Linked DNA regions of Homo sapiens: region 2 is linked to region 1. Evidence: promoter capture Hi-C in human tissues and cell types (Jung and others, 2019). All regions are on one chromosome and are shown on one strand. The core of a region is centred on a gene start or on the middle of the fragment in contact, and the rest is flanking DNA. Distances in the headings are between cores, read along the strand shown.

The links. Contacts are between HindIII fragments. The study calls those that stand out against the background at their distance.
Region 2: a contact is called between a fragment that was not itself captured here and the fragment with the promoter of SLC9A5 in region 1, in 2 of the 25 tissues and cell types used here (dorsolateral prefrontal cortex and hippocampus).

The regions. Positions count from the first base shown.
Region 1 is chr16:67,247,171-67,251,086 of GRCh38, forward strand. It overlaps SLC9A5 (solute carrier family 9 member A5), which reads left to right and starts at 1,809. Exons shown (of 16, transcript NM_004594.3): 1 at 1,809-2,031. The coding sequence starts at 1,845. FHOD1 (formin homology 2 domain containing 1) reads right to left here and starts at 311. Exons shown (of 22, transcript NM_013241.3): 1 at 40-311. The coding sequence starts at 240. RefSeq lists silencers at 249-618, 1,261-1,350, 1,371-1,460, 1,761-1,870 and enhancers at 1,546-2,047, 2,048-2,547. The HindIII fragment of the contact is 10,180 bases long and covers 1-3,916 here.
Region 2 is chr16:67,045,003-67,048,918 of GRCh38, forward strand. The region is part of intron 3 of CBFB (core-binding factor subunit beta); the gene reads left to right. Among named protein-coding and RNA genes, the nearest start is that of CBFB, 18 kb to the left of the region's middle. The HindIII fragment of the contact is 7,078 bases long and covers 1-3,916 here.

The DNA.
Region 1 (3,916 bases), core at 559-3,058:
AACCCCCGATCGCCCCAACCTTTCTCCGGCCTCCCTCACCTTGAGCGGCGCTCCCAGCAGGCGGTGCACCGCGGGTATCTGCGCGCCCAAGGGCAGCGCCCCGTCCAGGCTGCAGGTGGGGGCCCGGCGCGGCTCCGGAAAGTTGGCACATGCGAAGGGGTCGGTGTCTTCCAGGTACTGCACCCTCACGGTCACCACTGATACCGGCTCTCCGTCCCCGCGGTCTTCCCCGCCCGCCATGGCTCTGCGGCCGGCTCACGCAGCGCGCCTCCGAGTCCCGGCCCCAGTGCAGCTTCTACTCAAAGCACACTGTAGCTCCGCGGTTCGGGCCCGGCCGGACCGGACGCGGCTGGAGGGGCGGGGCCAGACGGAGGCGGGGCCGAGGAAGGGGGTGGAGCCAAGATTAGTCCCCGAGTGCGCGCCAGGAGGTAACCACTGCCGGAGGCGGGGCCGCCGCTAGCCACTCACAGGGCCCAATGGGAATCCCGTTAGTTCACTGGCTAGGAGGGCGGGAAAAACCGAGCTCGCGCCCCACCTTCGAGAACGCGCAGAAGGCGGGGAGGCTTTCTTTGGTCTGGGGATAGTGAGGCTGCGTTCTCTTTGAGGGGTGTTAGGGCAGATGGGGCAGAAGTTTCTTTAGATAGTGGCCGGCCAGGTCTCTCTCAGTTGAGGGACAAGATAGCCCTCATTCCTTCCATTTGAGGGGTGAGTCCCTGTGGTTTCCTCATTTAGGGAAAGCAGTGAGAGGGGGTCCCTTCAATTTGGAGCAAGAAGTGAGAATAAATTCCACCCAGTTTGAAGGAAGAGGTGGGATCAGTTCCCTTTAGTTGTGGGAGGAAGAGGGAAGGATGCCCTTCAGTTTTCTGGGAAAAGATTGGGAGGAGTCAGTTTGAGGGGGCAGATAGAACACGTTCCCCTCAGTTTTGGAGAAAAAGTGGGATGGGTGCCCCTCAGCCTGAATGAAAAGTGGAGACGGTCCTCCTCTGTTTGGGGCGCTATGAGCCGAATGCCCCTCAGATTTGGAAAAAGTTGGGTGCATCTCGCCTAGTTTGAAGGGAATCAGTAGGCTGGGTTTTCCATAGGTTCCTGTCAGCTTCATCAAAGAGATGAGACAGTTCTCTGTAGTGTGACTGAAAGGGAGGGCCAGGTGCCCCTTGGTTTGGGAGATGAAGAACAGCCTCCCTCTTCGCCTGGCACGAGCTGGGCCAGTCTGGGCCTTAGGGTTTCTGGGACGTTGGGGGCAGCGTTGTCCGTCACTGCTTTGGGGAGCGTCCAGTGCGCGTGCGCAGCTCAGGTCCGGGTGGGGGCCGGCAGGGGGTCCTGGGCTTGGCAACGTGGGCGGAGGGCGGCCAAGCACGGTCCCCTGCGTTTTGCACCCGGCCGCGCCTTGGTCCCAGGGGGGTGCTGCTCGCCGCACAGCAGCGCTGGCCGAGGAGGAGCCGTGCCCCTCCCGTCCTGACCGCGCCCCCCGCAGACCCCCGCCCTTCCCGCTGCGGGCTGCCCCAGGGGGGCCGTGGCCGCGCACCGCTCTGGATCTGGTGGGGGCGGTTTTGGGGAGGTTTGGGGGCGCGGACTCGAAGGAGTAGGTTGTGGAACTTGGGGGAGAGCTGCACTGGGGAATTTCCGGAGCTGGGACTGATTTAGGGAGGAAAGAGGAGAGAGTCCCCGACTACGAGAGTCCGAGGCAGGGTCTCGGAGCCTGGACCTGGCTTGGGGGTATCGGAGCCGGGATTGGGGGGAGCGGGCCCCACGTGCCTGTGACGCGGGGGCGCCCGGTAGGTGGCGGCGGCGACGCGGGGCCGGCGGCCGTGCGGTGCCGGGAGGGCGGCTGGGCAGGCGGCAGGATGCTGCGCGCCGCCCTGTCCCTGCTCGCGCTGCCCCTGGCGGGGGCGGCCGAAGAGCCCACCCAGAAGCCAGAGTCCCCGGGCGAGCCTCCCCCAGGCTTAGAGCTCTTCCGCTGGCAGTGGCACGAGGTGGAGGCGCCCTACCTGGTGGCCCTGTGGATCCTGGTGGCCAGTCTGGCCAAAATCGGTGAGTGCGTGTGTGCGTGCGCCAGGCCGACCGCCAGCGGCGGACCCGCCCCCAACACCCCCACCTCCTCGGTCCTCAGATTGGGGCTGGCTTCTTGCACGGTGCTGGGACTTAGGTTTGGATTCCACAAATCCGGGCTCTCGCCCAGTTCCTGCATCGCTTCTTGTGGGTCCCAGGTCCCTGTCTTCTCCCCTGGGAGCTCTGAGGATTTGCCTTTCTGAAGGGCTGTCCCCCGCTCTCCCCAACTCCATCTGTAGGCTCCTTTGCCCTCTCCGCTCCCCTCTTCCCCTTGCAGTAGGCCCTCTTCAGTCTGGTCTCTCCCCCACCAATCCCTAGCCTCCCAGAAACCTCTGTCGCTGGTGAGGATGTGTGGGGACATTGAGGGGAGGGTGTTCTCCCAAGAACACAGGCATCCTGGTTCTGAAAAAGCAGCCTTCCCTGGAGACCATGTCCGAGTGTCCATTCCCTTGGGAAACTACACTGCCACTTTTCCTCCAGCTCTCCCCTGCTCCCCACTTAAAGCTGCTGCCTTCTTGTGCCTGTGTATGGGTACCCCCCCAACCCACGTTCAGGTCCACATTCTTCTCACTTCAGGGTATAAGAAACTTCCGTGTATCGGGGCCTTCCTGTGTGCTGTCTACCCTAGATGCTTTCATACATCCGACCTCTTCAGTCCTGACAGCATTGAAGGCTGTGCTTCAGACTTCTTTTTCCCTGAATAGAGCTGCTTTTCCTTGCATCTGCTCCTTCCTCCTCCCTTCTGAGCAGCCAGTGGTCCCTCCTCCCACCAGAGACCCTCCTCCTTCTCCCTGTTGTGCTGGCTCTGCTGTGGGGGTGACTAATTATAGCTGAGCGTTGCTACTCTCTCCCCATGGATGCTGGCACAGCCTGTACTCCAGTCTCACCAATACAGCCTTCATGGAGGAATCACCCAGAGCCTAGAATTTGCCCCTCTTCTCCCACATGGACACTGCTAGGGGGTGAGGGGGCTGGGCAGGAACAGAACTCTCCACTCTGCTGTGGCAGCCTGAGATTAATAATGGAAAGTGGAACTCAATATGCCTTCCGGGAGCGTGGTTCTGTGATGGGGCTTGGATCTCGGGGCTGGGGTTAATGCATGAAGAGATGAAGATGAAATAGGGTCCCCGAAGGAGAGAAGTGGGAGACCAAAGTAGGGACAAGTATGGAGAGATCTATGACCATGTTTACCTTAGAGGTCCAGCAGCAATGAGAGTAAGAGTAGAAAGAGCCTCAGGTTTGGAGCCAACGATTGGGTTTGCTAAGTCTGTGAGTTGCAGAAGAGTTCCTGTCTTAGGGTTTATAGCAAAAACTGTAGTTTTCCCCATAAATCATGGTTCTTTTTCTAGTTTGGATGACATTTCCTATGGAAGTAAGAGAAGAGAGCCTCCTTTTCACAAGTCAAAGAAAATCCTCGAACAAGAGAAAAGGCAGAGCATTCAGGAACACCTTCCCCCAGCTTCATTGCTAGGAGACTTTTTCCCTTTTATTAAACAAATATTTACATAGAGCTCACTATGTGCCAGGCACTGTTCTAGGCCCTTTGGGTACAGCTTCCAAAGGGCACTGTCTTGGCATAGGGTCTCACAGAGGCTAATTTAGAGGTCTCCTTCCCCAACACCCCAGGGATTATGTAGAGAGAGATGTGTTCGCTTGTGGTCTGAGGACTTAAAGGAGAGCCAAAGAGTTTATTTTAGAGGACAAAAGTAGGAGTGGCTATAGTGCTAGAAACGCTTTTCTTCTCCCCTCCTACAGACAGAACTGTTCTATTTAATTAACATTTGGTGTGTGTCTAACATACTATGTGTCTGACATTATGCTAGGCACATTTGCATACTTTATATCATTTTATCCTCACCCTTGATGC
Region 2 (3,916 bases), core at 519-3,018, 200 kb before region 1:
ATTGAAATCTGGTTTTTAAAAATATGCTTTAGATAAACTATAATACTCTAATAATAACGGAATCATAAAATTTAGAACTGGTAACTGCAAGCTTATATATATATATATATTTGACACCTTTGTAGCTGGCAGAGCGTTTGTATTTTTAAAGAAAAGTTTTTATTTTAGTTATTTTAGTTATTTTTCAATCTAAGAGAGGAAGTCGACTTTCTGAAAAAATTAAAATGTTTTGGCTAGGTGGGGTGGTTCATGCCTGTAATCCCAGCACTTTGGGAGGCCGAGGCAGGTGGATCACCTGAGGTCAGGAGTTCGAGACCAGACTGGCCAACGTGATGAAACCCCACCTCTACTAAAAATACAAAAAATTAGCCAGGTATGCTGGCATGTGCCTGTAATCCCAGCTACTTGGGAGACTGAGGCAGGAGAATTGCTTGAACCCGGGAGGCGGAGGTTGCAGTGGGCTGAGATTGTACCACAACACTCCAGCCTGGGCAACAGAGCAAGACTCTGTCTGAAAAAAAAAAAATTAAAATGTTTTAAAATTAGTATGTCATAGTACCTTCCAGTTAGAGTACGTGAATCTGCATACATGGTAAATGCACCTCTGAAGCACTTGAAGATTGTGAAGTCCCGTTTTCTCTTCTTTTGGATTGCATTATTTCCATTTTAGTGTAAAGGTGAAATTCTCTTTCATGACCTTTCCTGAATTACATATTCCAAGTGAGAGAAGGCAGAAATAATATGTCTGAGAAGAGCATCCTTCACTCTTCCCCTCCTTCCTTCTACTTTCTACATTTTTTTTTTTTTTTTTGAGACAGTGTCTTGCTCTGTCATCCAGGCTGGAGTGCAGTGATGTAATCTTGGCTCACTGCAACCTCCGCCTCCCAGGTTCAAGCGATTCTCCTGCCTCAGCCTCCCAAGTAGCTGGGATTACAGGCACCCGCCACCACACCTGGCTAATTTTTGTGTTTTTATTGGAGATGGGGTTTCACCATTTTGGCCAGGCTGGTCTCAAACTCCTGACCTCAGGTGATCCGCCTGTCTTGGCCTCCCAAAGTGTTGGGATTATAGGCGCTCTGAGCCACTGTGCCTGGCCTTTTTTGTTGTTGTTTGTTTGTTTTTGAAACTAGATATCTCTCTGTCACCCAGGCTGGAGTGCAGTGGTGTGATCTTGGCTTACTGCAACCTCTGCCTCCTGGGCTCAAGCGATCCTCCCACCTCAGCCTCCCAAGTAGCTGGAACCACAGGCACGCGCCACCATGCCCAGGTAATTTTTTTGTAGATATGGGGGTCTCACCATGTTGCCCAGGCTGGTCTCAAACTCCTGGACTCAAGCAATCCTCTCGCCTTGGCCTCTCAAAGTGCTGGGATTACAGGCATGTACCCATCATTTTTTTTTAATGGTTAATTCAAATGCTGCCAGGATAAAGACTATTGAAATGTTGTTGTCTGAAGATGTTAATTTCTTTGTAGCACTGCTATGCCCTAGTTTTACTATTTCCCATTTTCACTTGTAGTTTTTCAATCAGCATTATTGAGGTATAATTTACATGTAGTACAGTTCACCTATTTTAAGTGTACAAGTCTGTGACAACTGTGTATTCAGTAGTATAACCACCACCAAAGTTCACCATTGCTTCAAAAAGTTCCCTCATGCCCCCTTGCAGGTAGTGTTCTAATTGATGCAGACATACATGCACTGATACTTTTGTGATCCTCATCTTACAGGGAAGAAAACGTTTGTAATTTCTTTTTAACAGCATAAAAATGCTGTTTACCTTCAGGTGCAGAGACTTTGTTTCTTCAATATTATTCTTTGATGCTTAGTTTTGTACAGAGGATTGGAAGCTACAGACAAGCTAAAGTATAATAGTGATATGGTAGACTTTAATTATTGTTCCTTTTTTTATGAAAGTATGCACGTGAACAGTTGGAAAGTATTATCTGTTATAAGCTTTTCAGTTTAAGCTGGGCCTCCTCAAATTGATGTGTGTTTAGGAACTAAGAATTTTAAATAACATTTGAAGGGCCGGGCGCAGTAGCTCATACCTGTAATCCCAGCACTTTAGGAGGCCAAGGCAGGCAGATCACAAGGTCAGGAGTTCAAGACCAGCTTGGCCAACATAGTGAAACCCCGTCTCTACTAAAAAAAAAAAAAAATTAGCCAGGCATAAGCTGAGATCATGCCACTGCACTGTAGCCTGGGCAACACAGCAAGACTCTGTCTCAATAAATAAATACCATTTGAAATGTCTTCAATGCCATGTGTGGAAACTATTTAAAAAAATAAAACGTGCCTCTTGGCAGTATTGCTGTGCTTTCAGGACTCTAATGCAGGCTGTACCTAAGAGGGAAAGGGCTGAGTCTGGGGATGGTTGGCAGGTTGTTTTTGTGGATGAAAAACCTTTTACCCATGTATGCAGTCAGTACTGAGCCTTTTTGTGTTTTAAAACTTCAGATGTAAAGACAGGTTAATCTTCAGATTAAAACAAAAGGATGGCCTAGAAACTTGTGACTTCGACATTTACATTAGAAGAATGTAGATGTTTTCAAATAAACAAATCTGCCCATATCATAGATGTTCAAAGTTTGTTCCATATAATAACAATGATAGTTTCTAATAATCGTGTGGCCCTGTTTGCAGAACAGTGTTCTAAGTAATGAGCCATTTGGGAGAACCCTTTAAATTTTTTTTTTAGGATATTTATTCACACCAGCTTTTTAGTCCTGAGTTTCTATCCATCCCTTTGCTATCCAGAACATTTCTTGGCCATTTTTTTACTGGGTCAGGTGCCGTGGCTCGTGCCTTTGGTCCCAGTGCTCTGGAAGGCCAGGGCGGGTGGATCGCCTGGGGTTAGGAGTTCAAGACTAGCGTGGCCAGCATGGTGAAGCCCCGTCTCTACTAGGAATGCAAAAATTGGCTGGGCATGGTGGTGGGTGCCTCTGGTCCCAGCTGCTCGGGAGGCTAAGGCAGGAGAATCACTTGAACCTGGGAGGCAGAGGGTGCAGTGAGCCAAGATCGCGCCACTGCACTCCAGCCTGGGAACAAAATTCCATCTCAAAAAAAATAAAAATAAAAATGCAGAAATTGGTCAGGCGTGGTGTCGCATGCCTCTGGTTCCAGCTACTTGAGAGAGGCTGGGGTGGGAGAGTTGCTTGGGCCTGGGAGGCAAAGGTTGCAGTGAGCAGAGATCGCACCACGGCACTCCAGCCTGGGTGACAGAGCAAGGCTCCATCTCCAAACAAACAAATAACAAAAAAAACCCCTAAAACATTTTTTATTTTCCTTAAATGTATTGGCCAAGGTTAAAATATCCATCCTGAATATTCTGTATGAAAACATTGGATATGAAGAAAAAAAGAAAATTCAGGCAGTTGACCAGGGGAGAGAATTGAGCTTTTTGGTTCTTCCTGACACATATTCTCAGTGAGACTATACTCACTTTTTTAAAAGCTATTTATAAAATATTAAAATAAGATATTACATGAAGTTAAAAATTGAAACGAAAGTCAGCATCTTAATTCACCAATTACACAACTGAATGGTGTTTTTTGTTTGTTTGTTTGAGACAGAGTCTCGCTCTGTTGTCGAGGCTGGAGTGCAGTGGCATGATCTCAGCTCACTGCAAGCTCTGCCTCCCGGGTTCATGCCATTCTACTGCCTCAGCCTCCCGAGTAGCTGGGACTACAGGAGCCCGCCACCACGCCTGGCTAATTTTTTTGTATTTTTTTAGTAGAGACGGGTTTTCACCATGTTAGCCAGGATGGTCTCGATCTCTTGACCTTGTGAGCCACCGTGTCTAGCCTTTTTTTTTTTTTTCTTTTTTTTTTTTTTGAGATGGAGTTTCACTCTTGTTGTCCAGACTGGAGTGCAATGGCGCCATCTCAGCTCACCACGACCTCCACCTCCCGGGTT